2 separate regions of the Homo sapiens genome follow, and region 1 is linked to region 2. The links are contacts of gene promoters, found by promoter capture Hi-C in human tissues and cell types (Jung and others, 2019). All regions are on one chromosome and are shown on one strand. Each heading gives the region's core, a stretch centred on a gene start or on the middle of the fragment in contact. The rest is flanking DNA. Distances are from core to core; before and after follow the strand shown.

What was found. Contacts are between HindIII fragments. The study calls those that stand out against the background at their distance.
Region 1: a contact is called between a fragment that was not itself captured here and the fragment with the promoter of NMUR1 in region 2, in 2 of the 25 tissues and cell types used here (aorta and lymphoblastoid cells).

What each region holds. Positions count from the first base shown.
Region 1 is chr2:231,774,197-231,778,986 of GRCh38, forward strand. The region is part of intron 1 of PDE6D (phosphodiesterase 6D); the gene reads right to left. Among named protein-coding and RNA genes, the nearest start is that of PDE6D, 4.7 kb to the right of the region's middle. The HindIII fragment of the contact is 7,341 bases long and covers 1-4,790 here.
Region 2 is chr2:231,527,033-231,532,084 of GRCh38, forward strand. It overlaps NMUR1 (neuromedin U receptor 1), which reads right to left and starts at 3,413. Exons shown (of 3, transcript NM_006056.5): 1 at 3,327-3,413; 2 at 1,091-1,985. The coding sequence starts at 3,329. RefSeq lists enhancers at 821-1,348, 1,349-1,875, 4,365-5,052 and a silencer at 3,241-3,670. The HindIII fragment of the contact is 18,375 bases long and covers 1-5,052 here.

The sequences.
Region 1 (4,790 bases), core at 559-3,058, 250 kb after region 2:
AGCTGGGATTACAGGCATGAACCACTATACCTGGCCTGTCATTATTATTAGTAATTATTAATAAAATGAATGGCAGCAGATATTACTATATGCCAGGCCCTGAACCAAACATCTTTTATGCAGTTTCATTTAATTCTCAAAACAACCCTCTGATAATATGAGATACAGATGCTGAGGCTCAGAGTCTGAGTGTTCTGTTGAGAGTCACAATAGCAGAGGCAGTAAGTCTAAACCTTGGAAGTGAGCCCATACTCTCAACCACTGTGCTATATACTCTACTGCAGTAATGTGTAAACATTTGATAGATACCAATTACTTTCTACAGACACTACACACACACACATAAACCAAATGAGAGTGCCCCTTTCCCTCAATGTTGTGAACACTGAATATTATCTTTTTTTTTTTTTGAGACTGAGTCTCTCTCTGTCACCCAGGCTGGAGTGCAGTGGTGCAATCTCGGCTCATTGCAACCTTGGCCTCCCAGGTTCAAGTGATTCTTCTGCCTCAGGCACCCTAATAATAGCTGGGATTACAGCTGTCCACACCATGCCCAGCTAATTTTTGTATTTTTAGTAGAGACGGGGTTTCACCATGTTGGCCAGGCTGGCCTCGAATCCCTGACCTCAAGTAATCCGCCCACCTTGGCCTCCCAAAGTGCTGGCATTACAGGCATGAGCCACTGTGCCTGGCATCTTTTTTTTTTTTAATAAATTTTTATTTTTATTTTTTTTGAGACAGAGTCTCACTCTGTAGCCCAGGCTGGAGTGCAGTGGTGTGATCTCAGCTCACTGCAACCTCTGCCTCCTGGGTTCAAGCAATTGTCCTGCCTCTGCCTCTTGAGCAGCTGGGATTACAGGCGTGTGCCACCAAGTTTGGCTAATTTTTTGTATTTTTAATAGAGAGGGAGTTTTGCTATGTTGGGCAGGCTGGTCTCAAACTCTTGGCCTCAAGTGATCTGCCCACCTTGGTCTCCCAAAGTGTTGGGATTACAGGCGTGAACCACTGTGCCTGGCCTAATTTTTAATTTTATTTTCGTACAGTGCCACTTTCAGGATATACATATATATTATCAATCTTTTAAATCTGTGTCAATTAATTGGGAAGAGATAGTCCATTATTATTATTATTGACAGGGTCTCACTCTGTTACCCTGGTTGGAATGCAGTGGGGCACAGTCTTGGCTCACTGCGACCTCCACCTCCCAGGCTCAGGTGATCCCCTCACCTCAGCCTCCCAGTAGCTGGGACCACAAGCATGCACCACCACACCTGGCTAATTTTTGTGTGTGTTTTTTTTTTTTTTTTGTAGAGGCGGGGTCTTGCCATGTTGCCTAGGCTGGTCTCAAACTTCTAGGCTCAAGCAATCCACCCACCTTGGCCTCCCAAAGTGCTGGGATTACAGGCATGAGCCCCTGCACCCGGAAGATAGTCTATTATTTTAACAAGGTTGAGCATGTCCTCATTTATTCATTGGTCATCTGCTTTTTCTTCTAGGAACTGCTTGTTCATATCCTTTGTCCACTTTGAGTTAAATGCTTATCCTATTGATTTGTAGGCAGCCATTTATATTCTGGATATTATAATATCTGACGTATAAATGAATTAAATAAATAAATGGAGACAATAAGCCAATATTAAAAAAAAGCTACATTACTACTCTGTATCTTATACCAAAGAAAATTCAGATGGATTAAAGATAATGAAATCATAAAAGCATAATTCATTCTTATGGAAGTCTGTCAGTTTCTTGTTAATTTAATAAAGTTATATTTTTATGTTGATGAAAAAGCTATTCAAATAGGCAAAACAGTAGATACAGACTATACTAGAAAGCTAGTATAAGAGTACTGTGACAAATGCTAGGTGCAGTGGCTCACGCCTGTAATCCCAGCACTTTGGGAGGCCTGAGGTCAGGAGTTCGAGACCAGCCTGGCCAACATGGCGAAACCCCCTCTCTACTAAAAATACAAAAATTAGCCGGGCGTGGTGGCAGGTGCCTGTAATCCCAGCTACTTGGGAGGCTGAGGCAGGAGAATCGCTTGAACTCCGGAGGTAGAGGTTGCAGTGAGTTGAGATCACATCACTGCACTCCAGCCGGGGTGACAAGAGCAAGACTCCGTCTCAAAAAAAAAAAAAAAAAAAAAAGAGTACTGTGACAAATCTGTCAGTGAAAGCAACTGAAAGTAACTATCTTTGGAAATCATAAACATGGTAAATCTATTATTAAGTGAACAAAGTAAGTTACAAAGTGATATTTACAATTCCATTTTTATAAAAAACACATTAAACATTAGCTACATTAGAAGGCTATATTAAATAATATTTACAAAGGTCACTCTAGGTGGCTGGCGTTTGTAATAGGAAAATTAAATAGAATTTTAAAAAATGCATTGCTTTTGAAGATATTCCTTCTAAACAGACATAAAGCTGGTTAAGCTTCTGGAAAGAAGGGACTGTAAGTTATTCATTTTTGTATCCTTCAAGTGTAGAGTGCCCTATACATAATAGTCACCCAACAGACCTTTGTTGAAGGAACGAAATGGGAAACGTGGGATTTACAAACATCAATCTCTATGTCAGCTGCTTAAAATAATCAAATCCAAAATATTTGCAGGAGAATCATATTGTTCCCCAAGTAACATTTCATTCATAACATTAATTTACAATTAGGAAATGTTATGCTTTTAACAAACAAGAAAGAAATGCAAGGTTCTTAATGTGTATGAGAGCCTTGCATTTCTTGAGAGGTAGTATAGCGCCACAGTCCAGTATAGCTCTTAACCACTATGCTATATTACCTTGTATGGATCTAGGGATCCAGGAAAATACAAATCGAAACAATGTGTTGTCCAAACTGGCAAAAATAAAAAAGATTGACCTAGTCAACGTGGAAAACTGAGTACTATCAACACTGTTGGCAGGAGATCATAATGGTGCTCTTTTTGTAGTGATAAACTCTTCTCACAAAAACAGATACTCTGAAAGAGGTAGGGTGAGATGGGGTGAAGGTGATACAAGAATAAAATCTTATAAGATTTTGTTTTTGAAACAACTGATGGCAAATACAAAGCTTCTACTGAATTCACTCAGACCATGCCTAATTTATGCATACAGTATTCACTTTTATGCAGTATCTTTAAATTTTTTTTTTTTAGAGTTGGGGGTCTCGCTATGTTGGCCAGGTTGGTCTTGAACTCCTGGCCTTGAGCAATCCTCCCACCTAGGCCTCCCAAAGTGCTGGGATTACAGGTGTGAGTCACCATGCCCAGCCAAGTCCTCATGTTTCTATCTACTATGGGCATATGGGCAAGCTTCCATGTGAACAAAAGGGGCACATATTTGTAGGGACCTTAAACACACATATTATGTTAGTCACAGACCATTCTATTGTAAACTATACTAAATCATATTATAAAGCTATAATAATTCAATCAAATGTGTATAGGTACAAGAAGAGACAAATAGATCAATGAAACAGAAATAATCCAAAAAAAAACCTATGTCTTATGAAAATTTAGTATATGACAAGGATGGCATTTCAAAACAGTGAGGAAAAGATGGACTAACTACTTAGTAAATAGTACTGGAACTATTGGCTATCCAAACAGCAGAAGTACTTAGATGTCTACCACATACCAAATGTGTAAATACGTTCCAGGTGGATTAAAGAGCTAAACATTGAAAAGAGAAGAAAAGATAGGATATTTAGTTAATCTTGGGATAAGAAAGATCTTTTTAAACAAGATACAAAATGCAAAAGCCAGATGGCAAATATTAATAAATTTGAGGCCAGGCACGGTGGCTCATGCCTGTAATCCCAGCACTTTGGGAGGCAGAGGCAGGCAGATCATGAGGTCAGGTGTTTGAGAACAGCTTGGCCAACATGGTGAAACCCCATCTCTATTAAAAATACAAAAATTAGCTGGGCATGGTGGCATGCACCTGTAATCCCAGCTACTCAGGAGGCTGAGGCAGGAGAATTGCTTGAACCTGGGAGGCGGAGGTTGCAGTGAGCCAAGATTGCGCCACTGCATTCCAACTTGGGCAACAGACCAAGACTCCGTCTCAAACAAATGAAATAAAATAAATTTGAAATGACAATTTAAAAATTCTGTTCAACAAAAAAGGAGACAATACATTGAAAGAAAATATTTGCAAAATACATAATAGGCAAAGGATTGATATTACAATATGTAAAGAACATCTACAAATAAGAAAAATAAACAATAGTAAAATGGGCAAAAACAAAATTAACAAACAATTTACAGAAGAAAAAGAAATGGCCAAATAGAAGAGATGTGCAACTTCTCTAATAATAACAAGAATAACACTGGCTAAAGCATAATGCTCACTGTGGATCAGGTGCTTTTCTAAATGCTTTAGATATCAACTCATTTACTCTTACAGCCCCATGAGATAGGTACTATTATTTTCCCCATCTTACAGATAAGAAAATTGAGGTGAGGTTAAAGCAGTTGCTCAGGGACACACAACTAGGAGCGCAGGGCTGGAATTCCAATGCAGGCAGTATAGAGACATAGTCCAGTATAGCTCTTAACCACTATGCTACATTACCTTTTCATGGATCTAGGGATCCAGAAGAATACCAATTAAAACAATGTATCATTTGTTATCCAAACTGGCAAATAAAAAAGACTGACCTAGTCAACGTGGAAAACTGAGTACTATCAACACTGCTGGTGGGAGAACATAATGGTGCTCTTTTTGCAGTGATAAACTATTCTTACAGAAACAGATACTCTGAAAGAAAGTTCAGAAAATCTATTT
Region 2 (5,052 bases), core at 2,163-4,662:
GCGGTTCCCAGGGAACCGCAGACATGGCATGGGGGAAATTCAGCACCTGGCCTCTCCAACACCCTCCTCCCCTTCTCTGGGGGACTTTGCTCCCCCCAGATCTCACTGTGTAGTTCCACTGGGGGCTGTGCACCTCGGCATCCTGCCACTCTGGCTCAGGAGGTGGGGCATGACCTAGGCCACGCCCATCAGAATCCTTCTTGGGATTTTTCACTCATCTCTAAGGAAAGACAGCAGTTCCTCAGGAAAGAAGATGGCGTGCCGGTGGCCATGCCTCACAGGCTGCTGCCGAGAAGAACAAGGCCAAGACACGTTAATAACCAAAGAGAGCCGGGTGCAATGGCTTATGCCTGTAATCCCAGCACTTTGGGAGGCTGAGGTGGGAGGATCACTTGAGACCAGGAGTTCAAGATCCGCTCTGGCAACATAGTGAGACCCCGTCTCTACAAAAATGAAAAAATTAGCTGGGCATGGTGGCACCTGCCTGTAGCCCCAGCTACTTAGGAGGCTGAGTGAGGTAGGAGGATCGCTTGAGCCTGGGAGGTTGAGGCTGCAGTGAGCCGTGGTCACACCACAGCCTGAGTGACAGAGCAAGACCCTGTCTCAAAAAAAAAAAAAAAAAAAAAAAGAAGAGGAGAGACCTGAGACCTGGAGGGTCCAGATCCCATTTTCTGTCATCCTGGAGCCCAACCACATGCCCTGCCCTTTCTGTGTTTTGGTTCCAGAGCCAGGGCCCCAAGTTTAGCAGGGTCCTGGGCTTGGTTTAATGCTCTGTTGTTGCTGTCTTGACATTCTTATTCATTTTTGAAAAAGGGACCCTGAATTTTCATGTTGCACTGGACTCCACAAATTACACAATCTTACCGTTAGCCATTAACAGGTATTTTTGGTGTAAGATTCTAGTAGGGTAATCTAAAAGAGTACACAGGAGTGCAACTCAGACACACACACACACACACACACACACGAGACTAGAGGAGTTCCTCGTCCCCCATAAACCCAGATACTCAGCCCCTTCTCCCAGGCCCCAGGAGCCCCAAACTCATACCCAGTGCCTGGCTCAGCCCCTCTTCCCAGCCGTGACACTTACACAGCATCTTGGTCACTTGTCTCCGGCCCCGATCGTGCTGCTGGAGCCTGCAGGTGTATCTGGACCTGGCTGCTGCAGAGCCCCTGCCCTTGGCCTCCTGCATGAGCAGCAGCCTCTCCCGCCGCAGTCGCAGCCCAATGAGCAGGTAGAGCACGCTCATGATGGCCATGGGCAGGCAGAAGAAGAGCAGCGCGGTGGTCTGCACTACCATGTTGTAGAGGGCCCGTGGGCGGACCAGCATGCAAACAGCTGAGTCTGGCACTGGGCCCCGGCAGGGCACGTGCAGCTGCCGGATGCCGTGCAGGCTGGTGTTGGGCAGGGAGCAGAGCATGGCAAGACCCCAGACGGCCCCAAGCACTCGGCGCACATGGGCCCGCGTCACCATGGACCTGGCCTGGAGTGGGTGCACCACGGCCACATAGCGTTCCACGCTCAGGGCAGTGACGTTGAGCACTGAGGCCAGGCAGACCATCTCAAACAGTAGCGTGCGGAAATAGCAGCCACCAACGCCCAGCAGGAAGGGGTAGTTGTGCCACATCTCATAGAGCTCCAGGGGCAGGCCCACCAGCAGCACCAGCAGGTCCGACACGGCCAGGCTGAAGAGGTAGTAGTTGGTAGGCGTGCGCATGGCCTTGTGGCGCAGGATGACCAGACAGGTCAGCCCATTGCCCACAGCGCCCACCACGAAGATCAGCAGGTATGTGGCACAGATGGGCATGAACAGCTCTGTCTGCTGGGGCCCCAGGTACTTGAGTCTCAGTGCCTCGTCAGTCAGGTTCAAGTCCTCAGGGTCAAAGTGCCCCCTGGCCGCACTGCCATTGCAAGCCATGGGGTTCCTTGCACCCCCTGGGTACAGGTCTCCAGGGAGGACAGAGCAATTGAGGCAGAGAGGAGTCTGTGGAACAGAGGGGAGAGATGCCCAGAAAGATCATTCAGGGAATGCTGGCTCTGTCCTCACTCATCAAGCCAAAGGTGACATTAGCGCTATGATGACCATTATTTTAGGCACCACTGAGAAAGAAAAAACTCTTCCATCCACAAGTCAGAGATGTAAAAATAAGCTTGGTGCAGTGGCTCACACCTGTAATCCCAACACTTTGGTCGAGGCAGGCGGATCACTTGAGATCAGGAGTTCAAGACCAGCCTGGCCAATATGGTGAAACCCCGTCTCTACTAACAATACAAAAAGTAGCCGGGCGTGGTAGCACACGCCTGTAATTCCAGCTACTTGGGAGGCTGAGGCGGGAGAATTGTTTGAACCCAGGAGACAGAGGTTGCAGTGAGCGGAGATTGTGCCACCGGACTCCAGCCTGGGCAACAGAGAAAGACCTTGTCTCAAAAAAACAAAAAGCAAACAACGAAAAAGTAAAAATCTACATTTAAAAAAAAAAAAACACGTGGGGTTTTGATTTTAAATTTCATGATCTATTGGAACCTTTGAGTAAATGACAGATCTTGGGTGTCTCCTCTTTCAAGCAATGATGCTAGATGAGGCACTCGTTTGGGCATCTGTAAAATGGGCACAATGCCTGGTATTGCAGGGTCTTCAAGAGCAAGCGCTCAGGAAGCAACTGCCTGGATTCGAATCCAGCCTCCCCAGTTCCAGGCTGTGTGACCTTTAGCGAGGTAACCTCTCTGAGGCTGTTTCCCTATTAGGAGGATCCAGGGAGTTTAATCCATTAAAGACATTAACACAGGGCCTGCCTGGCATACGGAAGGGCACGGGGATCACCCCCTTGCTCTGGGGACCCAGTCACTATGAGAGTCAAGTGAGGGAGTGTCAAGGCTACACACTACAAATGCTTCATCCACAAGTTGATTCTTTTTTCTGTTTTCTGTCACCTGAACTGTTCAGTCTCCATATTTGACGCCCTTGGCACTGCCAGTTCTGGGGTTCCCTCTCCTCTATTGAGCCCCACACCCTTCCTCCCGCCCGCCCTCACCCCCGCTGCACAGCAGCGCGGGAGCCTCGGGAACCAGTTGGGAACGCGCAGGCGCCAGCCCGGGTTCAAGGGAGGCGCCCTGGTCCTCGAGGAAGGGTCGCAAGCCCGCAGCCCCCCGGCGCCCCTGGCCGGAAGACACAAATGACCCGAGAAGTTGCGAGGCTCCCCGGTGGCGGGGACGGGGGGCACCCCGACGGAGCCCTCGGACCCTTCCCGCCCTAGGACGACCCTGCCCGCACCGAGCCCCGGCCCAGCTGCCGCGCCCTAGCCCACGCCGGCGCCTGCGCACCTACCATGCGGCCCGCGGCCCGCGAGACCCCGGCTTCCACCCTCCGAGCGACGGACACAGACGCGGCGCGGGAGCCAGTGGACTGACTGACAGCGGCCCCAGCCCGCGCCCCGACGCCCCGCCTGTCCGGCCGGGAACGCCGCCAGGGGGCAGTGCAGTCCCCGCAGCCCGGGCGGCGCCCCCTCCCGCACTGGCGGAGGACGCGGCCGTTGGAGGCGACACCTCCACAAGCAGCGTGGAGGCGACACCTCCACAAGCAGCGTTATCTGACGGAACCCTCACAACAACCCGTTTTACAGATGAGAAAACTGAGCCTCAGAGAGCCGCAGAGGAGGAGCCCGAGAGACCTGGGGCTCACATGTGATTCCCGCCCTCCAGCGTGCTGAGTTTAGCTTAACGCCGTCACGGTGTCCCTGCGGCCTCCAGCTCCTCCTGCCCCCCATTCAGACCCACCTCCAAGGACAGGGACGGCCCACCAGCCCCTTGAAGTCGACATGCCCCGGTGCGGTTCATCCTCCCAGGCTCCAGGCCTCTTCTTCTGTCCCAAGGCCCATGATTGCAGCCTCCGCAGCCCCTCTCACCCGCTGCTCCCTTCGGGGCCTCCAGTCCCTGAGTCCAGGCGCTCGGCCCTGCAGGACTGGGCAAGAGCCCCCTATTCTCCCTCCAGTCCATCCTCCCACAGCCACCAACGACCATCACCCCCTCGAAACCCTTCCTTGGGGCCCCCCCACTGCCTTCTGAAAAAGAGCACACCAAAGTCTAGCCTGGGGGTGGACCTCCCCACTCCTCACCTGCCTCCCTGGGCCACCCTCTCCTCACCATTGTCCTCAGCCCCAAATACTGTCCCCCTTATCCGTTCAAATGTTCTTCTGCCCCCATCACTGTACCAAGGGTGGGGGTATAGACAAGGATGGAGGGAATTTAGGGAAGGGTTAAGAATGCCCAGCCACAGCCTCCTGCTCCCCCACACTGCCCACATGCAAATCCCAGTGCCTCACCTGCTCCCACTCCCTAGTCCTGCAATCAGCTCCTTAGCTGGAAGCTGTTTCATCAGAAACTTCTAGGGACCCTAGAAATGACGGATCACACAGAGTAAAATGCTGGTTCCGGGGCCTTTGCCCAGAGTTTTGTCTCCTTAGCCTGGGCAAGGCCCAGAAATCCTCATGTTTGACAAACGCCCTCTGGAGAGCCCCATGCCCCAGAATCACACTGAGGAGCACCAGGAGAGGTTACAAAGCCACAGGACCCCGAGAGGCCACCGTGAGCTCAGAAGCTCTGTGTGCCTCAGTTCCCCTTCCTGTAGAATGGGCTAACCACCATCGCCACTATTGTGAAGGTGACATGAGACACTGAGCGTCAAGATTCAGCACAGGGGCTGGCACATGGCCAACACTCAAGAAATGTGGGGTGGGATTGTCACCATTTAGTGGCAACTGGAGGCTCCTCCTTCCCCCCGCTTTCCTGCACCCTCCTCCTCCCCACTGCCCCCCAATTCCATAAGTCACTGTCTGGGCTTGGGGATGGGAGTTAGGCCCTCAAGGAGCCTGCACCAGGCCGGCCTTCCCAGGAACTCCACATGTAAACAGAGTCCCAGGCAGGGGACGGTTGTGGGAAGTGCAGGGGCACGTGGTCCTCAGGGCCTTGGGAGAAAGGATTCTGTGGTGCCCTGGGAATTAACTACTCAGCCCCTGATGAGCTAGTCCAGGAGAAATCCTCAGTAACAGGGCTGC